Linked DNA regions of Homo sapiens: region 2 is linked to region 1. The links are contacts of gene promoters, found by promoter capture Hi-C in blood cells and fetal thymus (Javierre and others, 2016). All regions are on one chromosome and are shown on one strand. The core of a region is centred on a gene start or on the middle of the fragment in contact, and the rest is flanking DNA. Distances in the headings are between cores, read along the strand shown.

Region 1 (6,082 bases), core at 3,049-5,548:
TACAGGCATGCACCACCACGCCCAGCTAATTTTTTTAGTAGAGACGGGGTTTCTCCATGTTGATCAGGCTGGTCTCGAACTCCCGACTTCAGATGATCTGCCCACCTTGGCCTCCCAAAGTGCTGGGATTACAGGCATGAGCCACTGTGGCCGGCAAGACCCTGTCTCTTAAAAAAAAAAAAAAAAAAAAAAGACAGCAGAAATTCAACAGAAAATCTGGAAGATAAAGTTCAAGAAAGTTCCCAGGAAGTAGAGAAAATATAAAAGCAACACAGAAGCCACAGTAAGTCAACCAGAAGGACAACAGAGGACATCCAGTAACTTAATTACAGAAATACCGGAAAGAACAGAGAAAACAGATGGAGGGAATTCATCAATCAAATAATTCAAAATTCCCCACAGCTGAAGGACATGAATTTCTAGCTTGAAAGGGCCCACTGTGTGCCCACACTGTGAAGTGAAAAAAAAAAAACTTTATCAGAAGATTCAGAACACTGGTTATGAAGAAAACATAATTCAAACTTCCAGAGAAAAAAAAGGTCACATACAAAAATCAGGAGTAACACTAGAAGCTAAGATGTAGTGGAAAAATGTTTTCAGATGTCTGAAGAAATATTATTTCCAACAAATAATTCAATACCTAGACAAACAATCACTTAAGTGTAAGGGCAGAAAAAGAACTTTTTCAGCCGGGCGCGATGGTCAGCCTGACTAACATTTAGTATCTCTACTAAAAATAGAAAAACTATTAGCCGGGCATGGTGGCGCATGCCTGTAATCCCAGCTACTCGAGAGACTGAGGCAGGAGAATCCCTTGAACCCAGGAGGCAGAGGGTGCGGTGAGCAGAGATTGCACCATTGCACTCCAGCCTGGGCAACAAGAGCGAAACTCCGTCTCAAAAAAAACCCAAAAAAACAAAAAAACCCCACAACTTTTTCAGACATAAGCCTCAAACAGGGGCCGGTGTGGGGGCTCACAACTATAATCCCAGCACTTTGGGAGGCCAAGGCAGAAGGATCGCCTGAGCCCAGGAGTTCCAGAGTAGCCTGGGCAACAAAGGAAGACCCGTCTCTACAGAAAATAAAATAATCAGCTGGGCATGAGGTGTGATTGCGCAACTGTACTCTAGCCTGGGGAACAGAGTGAGACCCGGTCTCAAAAAATAGAAAAGAAAGCCTCAAAAGGTACATCTCATGCCCCCTTCTTCAGGAAGCTGGCAGAGTCTGTGTGCCATAATATAAGGTAGTAAGCCTGGGCAACACAGTGAAACCCCGTCTCTACAAACAATACAAAAACTAGCTGGGCATGGTGGTGCACACCTGTGGTACCAGTTACTCAGGAGGCTGAGACAAGAGGATCTCTTGAGCCTGGGAGGTTGAGGGAGCAGTGACCTATGATTGTGCCACTGCACTCCAGCCTGGGTGACAGAGCAAGACCTTGTCTCGAAAAAAAAAAAAAAAATTTTACATGGGCCGGGTGCGGTGGCTCATGCCTGTAATCCTGGCACTTTGGGAAGCCAAGGCAGGTGGACCTCTTGAGCTCCAGACTTCGAGTCCAGCCTAGGCAACATAGTGAGACCTTGTCTCTACAAAAAATACAAAAAACTAGCCAGCTGTGGTATTGTGTGCCTGCAGTCCCAGATACTCACTTGGGAGGCTGAGGTGGGAGGATCATCTGAGCCTAGGAGGTCAAAGCTACAGTGAGCTTTGATCATGCTATTGCACATCAGCCTGGGTGACAGACTGTCTCAAAAAAAAAAAAAAGAGGTAGTAAACTGAGAAAAAGAAAACTGTAGGATATACTAAACATAGGACCCAACAAAGATACAGAGAATTCCCAGATAATAATGGTTAAGAGAGATCTCAGCAAACAGCCGAGAGATCAGCCAGTCCATATTAAGCAAGTCCGAAGGCTCTAGAGATGTCTTCAGGAAGGTGAAACTGATAACATACTTCGTTCATCTGAACATCTTGAGGGGAGATTGAGAACACTAGTAAAGGATGTGAGGTTAAAGTAGGAATAAATATGTAAAAAACTAAATAAGCACATAAACAAAACCAAGATAGTTGTAACTCCAGGGAAATCCAAAAGTTACAAAGAAAACAAAAAGTAATCATAGCTTCCTACATGGTTCCACTGTGACTAGTTTATATATCATCATACAAATAAAACTTGGAATCTTGATCTAAAAAAATTACCACTGAAGAATGGGGGTTAGGAAGGGTGCATAACTATATATTAATAGAAAAAAGATTTTGAAAAAGACAGAAAACAGGGCTTCTGAAAATAAACATGAATCAACAGCATTGGTTCCTGTGTCTGAACCATGGGTGTCAGGGGCAATGATTATGCCCCCTTCAGGACTGTCAATGTGTCTTGTGAACCTTCTTGTTGGAGGGAAAAAACCCAAAACTGGCTGGGCACGGTGGCTCACGCCTGTAATCCCAGCATTTTGGGAGGCTGAGGTGTCCGTATCACAAGGTCAGGAGTTTGAGACCAGCCTGGCCAATATGGTGAAACCCCGTCTCTTCTAAAAATACACAAATTAGCCGGGTGTGGTGGCATGCGCCTGTAGTCACAGCTACTTGGGAGGCTGAGGCAGGAGAATCACTTGAACTTGGGAAGCGGAGGTTGCACTGAGCTGAGATCGCCCATTGCACTCCAGCCTGGGAGACAGAGCAAGACTCTGTCTAAAAAAAAAAAACAAACCAACCCAAACTACTGTCAGTGTATGGATTAACCTATTCAGACACAGAACAGTTCTGGCGATTATTGTTTAAAGTGACAGCATTCCAAACCCTCAGGCCATCAAATCTGAGAGCCCAGAACAATTGTATAAGCTAACATCAGTTGGCTTTTTTCCCATCCTTTTTGGAAACAAGTATGTTTGAATACTTGGCTGCACTAATCTTTCAAGCACATATACTTAAGTCTCCTTAATTTTGACTGAGATGAGGAAACAAAGTTGGCTTATTTTTCTCAGTTCCTTAAAAACAGTAACTCAAGATAAACCCTTTCAAAATGCAGTACAGTACTTTTAAAACAAAAGCCATCCAAGTTGAATAAGCGATGGCAGTTTGGGGGCCTGATATGGCTGTTATTTATAAGGTGGCCATTTTTACATCCTAAGAGTAGTTCATTAGTCAATGCATTTTGAGTATATCAAATTTGATTTGATCTTATCCTAGCATACTCTGAACACATCTTGAGATCAACCCTTCTCAAGTGATTTTGGTGAGCATAGCCAAAGAGTACCCTCTGCTGGTCAGAAAAAAAATGGTGCTTTCACAATACCCAGATTTACTCCAACGATTGCATATGCATTTAGGTTTTGTGGCTCTTAAAATGCTTTTTTTTTTTTTTTTGAGATGGAATTTCGCTCTTGTTGCCCAGGCTGGAGTGCAATGGCGCGATCTCGGCTCACGGCAACCTCCGCCTCCCGGGTTCAAGCGATTCTCCTGCCTCAGCCTCCTGAGTAGCTGGAATTACAGGCGCCCGCCACCACGCCCAGCTAATTTTTTGTATTTTTAGTAGAGACGAAGTTTCACCATGTTGGCCAGGCTGGTCTCGAACTCCTGACCTTAGGTAATCCAACTGCCTCGGCCTCCCAAAGTGCTGGGATTACGGGAGTGAGCCACTGCGCTGGGCCTACTTTTTAAAGTGTATGGAAGCATTAACTTTAATGTTAACATCAGAATTTGAGAAAAAGAAGTTTAATAATTCAAAATTTCGTGTAAAATAATCAAGAACTCCACGTTTCTATCACTCACTGTAGGCTCCCGTCCCTTCCACCCCCGGGCGGGGACCCCTCCCAGCGACCCGGCCAGCTCTCAGCACTTCGGTCCCCACTGGCCTACTCGCTCCGACGGAGGGGCTCCTGCAACTGCGCTGTACCGTAAATATTTGCTGAATCGATTTGACTTTTACTTGTTCCAATTTCGCTTTTTTGTTGTTTTGTTTTTTTGTCTTTTTACGAACAAGAGGTTTAGAGAACCACATGGAAAAAAGGCAGGGCCAGGCCCGGACACCCCGCCTCCTGCCTCCCGGCCCGGCGGTGCCCGGATGCCCCGCCCGCGCCCATGGCGCAGCCACACACGACCTCGGTCCCGTACTTCGCGCGCTCTCCTGCACCGCCGCCGCCATCTCGCTCAGGAGCTCCTCCACAACCGCCGGCAACACTACGGCCATCGCGCCGCAGGACACGCCCTCCACGACCGGCGGACCGCCGCGACGCTCCAGCTGACTGCGCCTACCTGTGGAGGATCCTGACCCCCCGCCGGGGCAGGGCGAGACGGAGTGACGTCGGGGCGCGTCATCGCGCGTGCGGACGCAGGGATGTCCTGCTCAGTCGTCAGGGCCCGGCCAATCCGGAGGGCGCTCGGCGCGTGGTCGGGGGCCAGGAGCGCGTCTGGCCTGCAGTGCGCAGAGGACGCGGCGGGAGCATGTTCCGGCTCCTGAGCTGGAGCCTGGGCCGAGGCTTCCTGCGGGCCGCGGGGCGGCGGTGCCGGGGCTGCTCCGCGCGCCTGCTCCCGGGGCTGGCAGGAGGTCCGGGGCCCGAGGTGCAGGTGCCGCCATCCCGAGTCGCGCCGCACGGCCGGGGCCCAGGCCTGCTGCCGCTGCTGGCAGGTGAGGGGCGCGGGCCGGGCGGGGCCGGCCGGGCGGGGACAGGGGCGCGGGCCGGGCCCGATGACCTCAGAGCCCCTTCCCGCAGCGCTCGCCTGGTTCTCGAGGCCCGCTGCGGCAGAGGAGGAGGAGCAGCAGGGAGCCGACGGGGCCGCTGCCGAGGACGGGGCGGACGAGGCCGAGGCAGAGATCATCCAGCTGCTGAAGCGAGCCAAGGTGAGGCGGCTCCGGGCCCTGCGCCCGGCCGAGCGCGGTAGCCTTTGTGAGCGGGGTCTTGGCGTTGCTGCGCATTACTCTCTCCGCCTCGCCGAAGAGTGGATGGAGGCTCCGCGGGTAAAATTGCCGAGAATGAGGTGGGTCATCCGAGAGGGGATTGGAATCCATCCAGGCTTTTCCGACTCTAAGGCCTGCAGTAAAACCTCTGCAGTGTCAAGTGCAAATGGAGATGGCGCCCTAGGCATCACGCTTTATGCAAACGAAATATCGGGAACGTTTTGTAGTGGTTTTATCAATTAACCAGCCTATCTGAAATGACATAATTTCGCACGTATATAGCGGCCTGAAAATGGCAACTTAGTGTTGGTTATGCGGTTCGGTTCTCCTCCTGAATTCTTCCTTTTCTCCACATCCTTTTCTATTTTTTTTTCCTCCTCTTTTCCCAAGTTATCTCATCTCTTCCATTGAGCTAAATACCTACTCGATGCCAACAACGTCCAAATTTGTATTTCCATTCTGTAGTGTGCTACTGACATGCCATTTGCACTTTAGGACCATACCTACCTCTCAGATTTAACATGCCCAAAACTAAACGATCTTTAATGCCTCCTCAACATACGCTTTCGCCATCTCTTTACTACCATCAGTTTTTCAGCCTAAAAACCTCATAGTCATTCTTAAAACTTGTGGTACCTTACCATTGCCTTCCAATACACTTACAGTCCAGCAACAAGTCCTGTTGCCAACAAATGCAAAATATTTCTCAAATCTTTCCCCTTTTGTCTATCTCCCTTGCTGTCACCCTAGTGCAAACCATCATTGCCACCAACTATGCTCCAGTAGTCTTTCCTGGCCTCCTGGCCTCTTGCAATCTATTCTCCATGCAGAAACCAAAGCGACCAAAAAAAAAAAGAGTAAATTGGATTATGTCATCTCCTTGTCAGAAAGCTCTGAATGGCTACCCACTGCATTTATGATAAAATACAAACTCCTTGCCTTGGCTTGCAACACCCCACATGATCTAAACCAGCATATACCTTGCCCACCCATTTGGCAGTAATCCTCTGGCTCACCATCCTCCCTTCACATCTATTTCTTTGCATTTCTTCCTCAAAACCATTCTCTTCAGCTTGTAGGGACTTCACTCATTCTCTACCCTCTGTTTGAGTCATTGTTCTCCCCAGGTCCTTATTTGGTTGACTCATTCTCATCCTTACTACCTCAGTTTAGCTGTCACTTCCT
Region 2 (6,426 bases), core at 1,008-3,507, 180 kb before region 1:
TAAGTATGTCCAGGAAAAAGGAAAGGCCTGAGTGATGCTGGGAGGCTGGAGAGCTGGCCTTGGGTGTGTGGCGGAGGGGGGGCAGGAGATCAGGACCAAGGGTTTGACCAAGGCCAGATCTTGAAGACTCGGGCCATCCCATAGTTGATACCTTATCCCAGGGCCAGGCAGGCCTTCCACTGCTCTGTGCGCACTGGTGGGCAGTGCCTCATGGGATGCTAGGAGCCTAGACCCCAGCCACCCACCTGGGCTCCTGAGACCCGAGGTGCAGGCACGGGGCTGGGAGGGGTTGCAGCTGATTTACATTCAACAGATTGAGGGGAAAACTGCAGGTGCCTCGCTGTGCAGATGGAACCCACCGCCAGATGGACCCCGGAGACAGCCTAGATTCACAGCCTTTCCCTGCTGCTCTGTCCCCACACCCCAGGCGGGGAGCAAATCTTTTCTCTGATCATCTTTTGTGCTCACCACCCATATCCCAGACATGTACCCGACCAGGGGCTCAAATACATACAGTTTCTGAGCGAGCTGGATAAGGCAGTGACCAGAGGCTGCCTCGACACAGGATGAAATTGCCCAGTGCTCTGGCACCACGAGTCAGAACCCAGCCAGAACTGTGACCTGGCAGTGGCAGAAGCTGTCTGGTGCTGCCAAATCAGCCCTGGCCAGTTGTTCATTGACCCCCTCTGGGACCTTGGCTGAGCCACTTCCCCTCAGCTGTAAAATGAAGAAGACTGTCTTTCCTATTAGATATCCCTCAAAAACACAAAAGTGCTTTGAACCTGCCAGACTCCCTCTTGAAGAGTCACAAGAAAAGGCTCTGAGAAGTCCTGCAGTTAAAAAAATTTTTTGACTTTCTTTAACCCAGCATTTTTCAAGCTAATTGACCACAGAGCTCTTTCTTGGTGCAACACCTGTTAACCGGCCAAGTGTGTGAGGAGGCACAAGTAGAGAGCTCTGAGAATCACCCTCCTTGGCTGCTCTCTGGTCTCAGGGTGCAGGAAAGAGTCTCCGTGCTACATCCCAGTCTGCGGTAGTCCAGGGTGTGAGCCCAGCCCACAGAGCTAGTGTCAGAGAGGAATTCCCTTTCTTCCCTTTCTGTTAATGGAGCTTCTCCCTCAAGCTTCTACTCCACCTGGCTGGTGTCAGTCTTAGGGTTTTCATGCTCCTCTTTGGGCTTGATGGGGGTTCTGGGATTTTATGTAGGTTGAGATAGCAGTAGAGGAGGAAGGGCATGGACAGCTTCTCTGATCAGTTGGGCATCTGCCATCAGGTCAGTCGGGCATTATCTCCCCCTCAGGTCCGGTGGCTTTGGTGGCTTCCAGGCCATGAATGGGCCCTGGAGCCTCCCCAAGGCTGCCCTTGTCACATAGGATCCACTGCCGGACTTTACTCAGCCACTGCTTCACACTATGGCAGGGTGGGTGGTAGCTCCCTCCTTCTCCACTCCCCAGCCCAAACTGGGGGAGAATTAGGAGTCTGTTTTTAATTTTGTTTGATCCTTTGATTTTAGATTTGCTTTTGAATAGATAATATAGTCAGATGATTTGAAACTCAGAATGTATTGAAAGATTATTAATAAAGTCTTTTTTCCCTCTTTGTCCACCAACTGCTCCCTTCTCGCCTCCCCTCGAGTAAGCAGTTTTCTTAAGATGTAATTTCCATGCCATAAAGTTCACCTGTGTAAAGTGTACAAGTCTGTTTTTTAGTGTATTTACACAGTTATGCAACAATCACCCTAACTAATTTTAGAACATATTTTTAGAACTAATTTAGAACTAATTTTGATCACCCCAAAAAGAAACCTTGTCAATCTTCATTCCTCCCCTACCCTAGGCTACCACTAATTTATTATCTGTCTCTATAGATTTGCCTGTTTTGGACATTTTCCATAAATGGAATCATACAATATGTGATGTATTGTGACTAGCTTCTTCCACTTGGCATAATGTTTTCAAGGGCTGTCCATGTTGTAGCAGGTATCAGTACTTGCTTCAGTTTTGTGGCTAAGTAACATTCCACTTTATGGATATGTCATATGGCTTTTCCAGTCATCGGTGGATGGACATTTGGGTTGTTTCTACTTTTTTGGTCACTGTGATTGTTAATAATGCCTCCATGAACTTTTGGGTTCAAGTTTTGGGTGAACATGTTTCATTTCTCTTGAGTAGATGGATACCTAGAAGTGGAATTACTGGGTCATATGATAATTCTACATTTAGCATTTTAAGGACCTGCCAAACTGCTTTCCAGAGCAGCTGCACTATTTTATAATTTACTTCGTGCACGAGGGTTCCGATTTCTCCACATCTTCACTGACACTTGTTATTGACCATCTTTCTCACTCTAGCCTTCCCAGGGGGTATGAGGTGGTATCTCAGTGTGGTTTGGGTTTGCATTTCCCTAGTGACAAATGATGTTGAGCATCTTTTCATGTGCTTGTTGTCCAGTCATATGTCTTTTATGGTAAAATGTCTCTTGAAATTTGTCTTTTCGTTATTCTGTTATAAGCATTCTTTATATTAATATATTCTGGATACTAATATATTCTGGATACTCTTACTTAGCAATGAAGACTGTTTGCGGTATGGGTCCAACCTGCGTTCCAGTTGGAATGTCCTAGTCACCTATGCATCCACCCAACAAATACTGCCAGAGAGCCTACCATGCGTATATATGGCAGAGTCCCTGGCCTCAGGAAGCCCACGGTCTAGTCCAGACACACAACACCACCCACGTTCTTTGAACTTCCACTTCTCTCTAGATTTCTTGAGCCAACTAACAACTCTCAAGTACTTTGCCTATTCAGTATTGTTTTTTACAGCCCTTAATTTCATTTTGCACACTACTTACTGTTGAGTTTTAATATTTGCAAATATTTGCTTCTATTCTGTGACTTGTCTTTTTACTCTCTCAGTAGTATCCTTTGGTCCTATTAAAATTAAAACAAGTTATAATTTTCATGAAGTTCAATTTATCTAATTTTTTTCTTTCATTGTCTGTGCCTTTGTTGCCATATCCAAAGTATCATTTCCAAATTCAGTTGATGGAGATTTTTCTCCTGTGTTTTCTTTTAAAACATTTATAGTTTTAGCCTGTAGCCCATTTTGAGTTAATTTTTGTATATGGTGTCAGATAAGGATTCAGCTTCATTCACGCACATGGATAGCCAGTTTTTCCAGCGTAATTTGTTGAAGAGACTGTCCTTTTCCCCATTGAGTGGAATTGTTAGTGTTTTTTACATAGAAGATTATGTTGTCTGTGAACAGAGATATTCTTATGCTCTCCTTTCCAATGTTTATATCTTTATTTCTTTTTCTTGCATAAGTGCTCTGGCTATGTTGAAGAGAAGTGACATGTGTGCATCCTGATCTTGTTCCTGATCTTAGGGGAAAGCTTTCACTCTTTCACCACTGAGAATGTTGTTAGCTGTGGGATTCTCAAATATGGCCTTTATCATGATAGGGAAGTTACTTTCTACCCTAGTTTCTTGTGTTTTTATCATGAAAAAGTATTGGATTTTTTAAATTGTTTTTTCTGCATCAACTGAGATGAACATAGTTTTTTCTGTAATTTTTTTCCTTTTTTTTTTGAGATGGAGTCTCACTCTGTCACCCAGGCTGGAGTGCAGTGGTGCAATCTCGGCTCACTGCAACCTCTGCCTCCTGGGTTTGAGCGATTCTCCTGCCTCAGCCTCCCAGGTAGCTGGGACTACAGGCACCCGCCACCACACCCGGCTAATTTTTTGTATTTTTAGTGGAGATGGGGTTTCACCATGTTAGCCAGGATGGTCTTGATCTCCTGACCTCATGATCCACCCGCCTCAGCCTCCCAAAGTGCTGGGATTACAGGCATGAGCCACCATGCCTGGCCTTTTAATTTTTTTAATGTGGTGCATTTTACTGATTGTTTTTTTTATGTTGAACCATCTTTGCACTCCAGGAATAAATTCCACTTGGTTATGGTGAATAATTTCTTTGATATGCTGTTGGGTTCACTTTGCTAATATTTTATTGAGAATTTTTGCATCTAAATACTTAAGGCATATTGGTCTGTAATTTTCTTTTTTGTGATGGCTTCATTGGGCTTTGGTATCAGTGTAATGCTGACTTTATAGAATGAGTTAGGAAGTGTTCCCTCCTCTTTGATTTTTGGGAAGAGTTTGAGAAGAATTAGAGTTGATTCTTTAAATGTTTTGGTGGGGTTCACTAGTAAAGCAATCTGGTCTTGTGCTTGTCATTGTTTTTTTTTTTTTTTTTTTTTTTGACAAAGTTTTGCTCTTGTTGCCCAGGGTGGAGTCCAATGGTACAATCTCGGCTCACTGCAACCTCTGCCTCCCGGGTTCAAGCGATTCTCATGCCTCAACCTCTTGAGTAGCTGGGATTACAGGCATGTGCCACCACACCTGGCTAATTTTTGTATTTTTAGTAGAGACAGGGTTTCTCCATGTTGGTCAGGCTGGTCTTGAACTCCCGACCTCAAGTGATCTGCCCGCCTCGGCCTCCCAAAGTGCTAGGATTAAAGGTGTGAGCCACCACACCCGGCCAGTAGGTTTCTTATTACTGATTCAGTCTCCTCACTTCCTCACCAGTTGTAGGTCTATTCAGATTTTCTGTTTCTTAATGTGTCAGTTTTGGTAGATTGTGTGTTTCTAGGAATATGCCCATTTTATCCAGGTTATAAAATTTATTGGTATACTGCTGTTCATAGTATTCTCTTATAATCTTTTTTATTTTCATAAAATAAGTAATACTGTTTCCAATTTCACTTCTGATTTTAATAATTTGAGTCTTCTCTCTTTTTCTTAGTAAATTTCCTTTCTGATTTTGATAGTTTGAGTTTTCTCTTTTTCTTAACAAATTTCATTTCTGATTTTGATAATTTGAGTCTTTTTATTAGTCTAGCTAATGTGTTGCTAATTTTGTTGATCTTTTAAAGAGCTAGCTTTTGGTTTTGTTGATTTTCTCTATTGTTTTTCCATCTGTATGTTGTTTATCTCTGCTGTAATCATTATTTCCATCTGCTAGCTTTGGGTTTGGTTTGCTCTTCCTTTTCTATTTCCTCAAGGTGTATAATTAGGTTATGATCTGGTTATGTTTCTTCTTTTTCAGTGTATGCGTTTACATAAACTTCCCTCTTCACATTGTTTTATTGTATCCCATAACTTTTGGCATGTTGCCTTTTCATTTTCCTTTGTCTCAAGATATTTTCAAATTTCCCTTGTCATTTCTTCTTTGACCAGTTGAGAAAGAGTGTGTTTAATTTCCACATGTGTGAATTTTCCAGTTCTCCTTCTGTTATTGATTTGTAGTTTTATAACATTGTGATCAGAAAAGATACTTTGAATTATTTTAAATTTTTAAGAATGTGTTAAGGTTTGTTTTGTGGCCTAACATGTGGTCTATCCTGGAGAACGTACCATGTGCACTTGAGAGGAATGTGTATTCTCCTGTTGTGGGGTGGAGTGTTGTGTATGTGTCTGTTGTGTCCAGTTGGTTTGTAGTGTTGTTCAAGTCCTGTATTTTCTTATTGATCTGTCTGGTTGTTCTATTATTGAAAGTGAAGTATTGAAATGTCCTAGTATTAGTGTAAGAGTATTTCTCCCTTTCATTCTGTCAATTTTTAAAAATATACTTTGGGATCCTGCTATTAGGTTTATATAAATTTATAATTGTTATATCTTCTTGCTGCGTTCCTTTTTATTTTTATTTATTTATTTTAGATGGAGTTTCACTCTTGTTGCCCAGGCTGGAGTGCAATGGCTCACTGCAGCCTCCACCTCCAGGGTGCAAGCGATACTCCTGCCTCAGCCTCCCAAGTAGCTGGGGTTACAGGCGCCTGGTACCACACCTGGCTAATTTTTTGTTTTTTGTTTTTTAAGACAGAGTCTCACTCTGTCACCAGGCTGGAGTACAGTGGCGCAATCTCGGCTCACTGCAACTTCTGACTCCCTGGTTCAAGTGATTCTCCTGCCTCAGCCTCCCAAGTAGCTGGGATTATAGGCACATGCCACCACGCCCAGCTAATTTTTGTATTTTTGATAGAGACAGGGTTTCACCCTGTTGGCCAGGATGGTCTCGATCTCCTGACCAAGTGATCCACCTGCCTCGGCCTCCTAAAGTGCTGGGATTACAGGCGTGAGACACCGTGCCTGGCCAATTTTTTGTATTTTTTAGTAGAGACGGAGTTTTCACCATGTTGACCAGGCTGGTGTCGAACTCCTGACCTCAGGTGATCCACTCACCTCGGCCTCCCAAAGGGCTGGGTTTACAGTCCTGAGCCACCTGCCTGGCTTCCCTTTGTTAATATATACCTTAACAATGTATATTTTCTCCCATTCTATAGGTTGTCTGTTTACTCTGTTGATAGTTTCTTCTGAAGACAGTGGAATACTATGCAGCAACTAAAGTAGCCACCTAGCAGGAT

What was found. Contacts are between HindIII fragments. The CHiCAGO score rates a contact against its expected background, and 5 or more counts as called.
Region 2: a contact is called between a fragment that was not itself captured here and the fragment with the promoter of ZSWIM7 in region 1, in 6 of 17 cell types (naive CD4 T cells, erythroblasts, total CD4 T cells and 3 more). The highest score is 6.4, in naive CD4 T cells.

What each region holds. Positions count from the first base shown.
Region 1 is chr17:15,995,406-16,001,487 of GRCh38, forward strand. ZSWIM7 (zinc finger SWIM-type containing 7) reads right to left here and starts at 4,299. Exons shown (of 5, transcript NM_001042697.2): 1 at 4,114-4,299. The coding sequence starts at 4,189. TTC19 (tetratricopeptide repeat domain 19) reads left to right here and starts at 4,419. Exons shown (of 10, transcript NM_017775.4): 1 at 4,419-4,627; 2 at 4,713-4,840. The coding sequence starts at 4,444. RefSeq lists silencers at 3,873-4,032, 4,383-4,772 and an enhancer at 4,173-4,262. The HindIII fragment of the contact is 18,071 bases long and covers 1-6,082 here.
Region 2 is chr17:15,821,854-15,828,279 of GRCh38, forward strand. No RefSeq gene overlaps it. Among named protein-coding and RNA genes, the nearest start is that of LINC02087, 7.3 kb to the left of the region's middle. The HindIII fragment of the contact is 2,273 bases long and covers 1,122-3,394 here.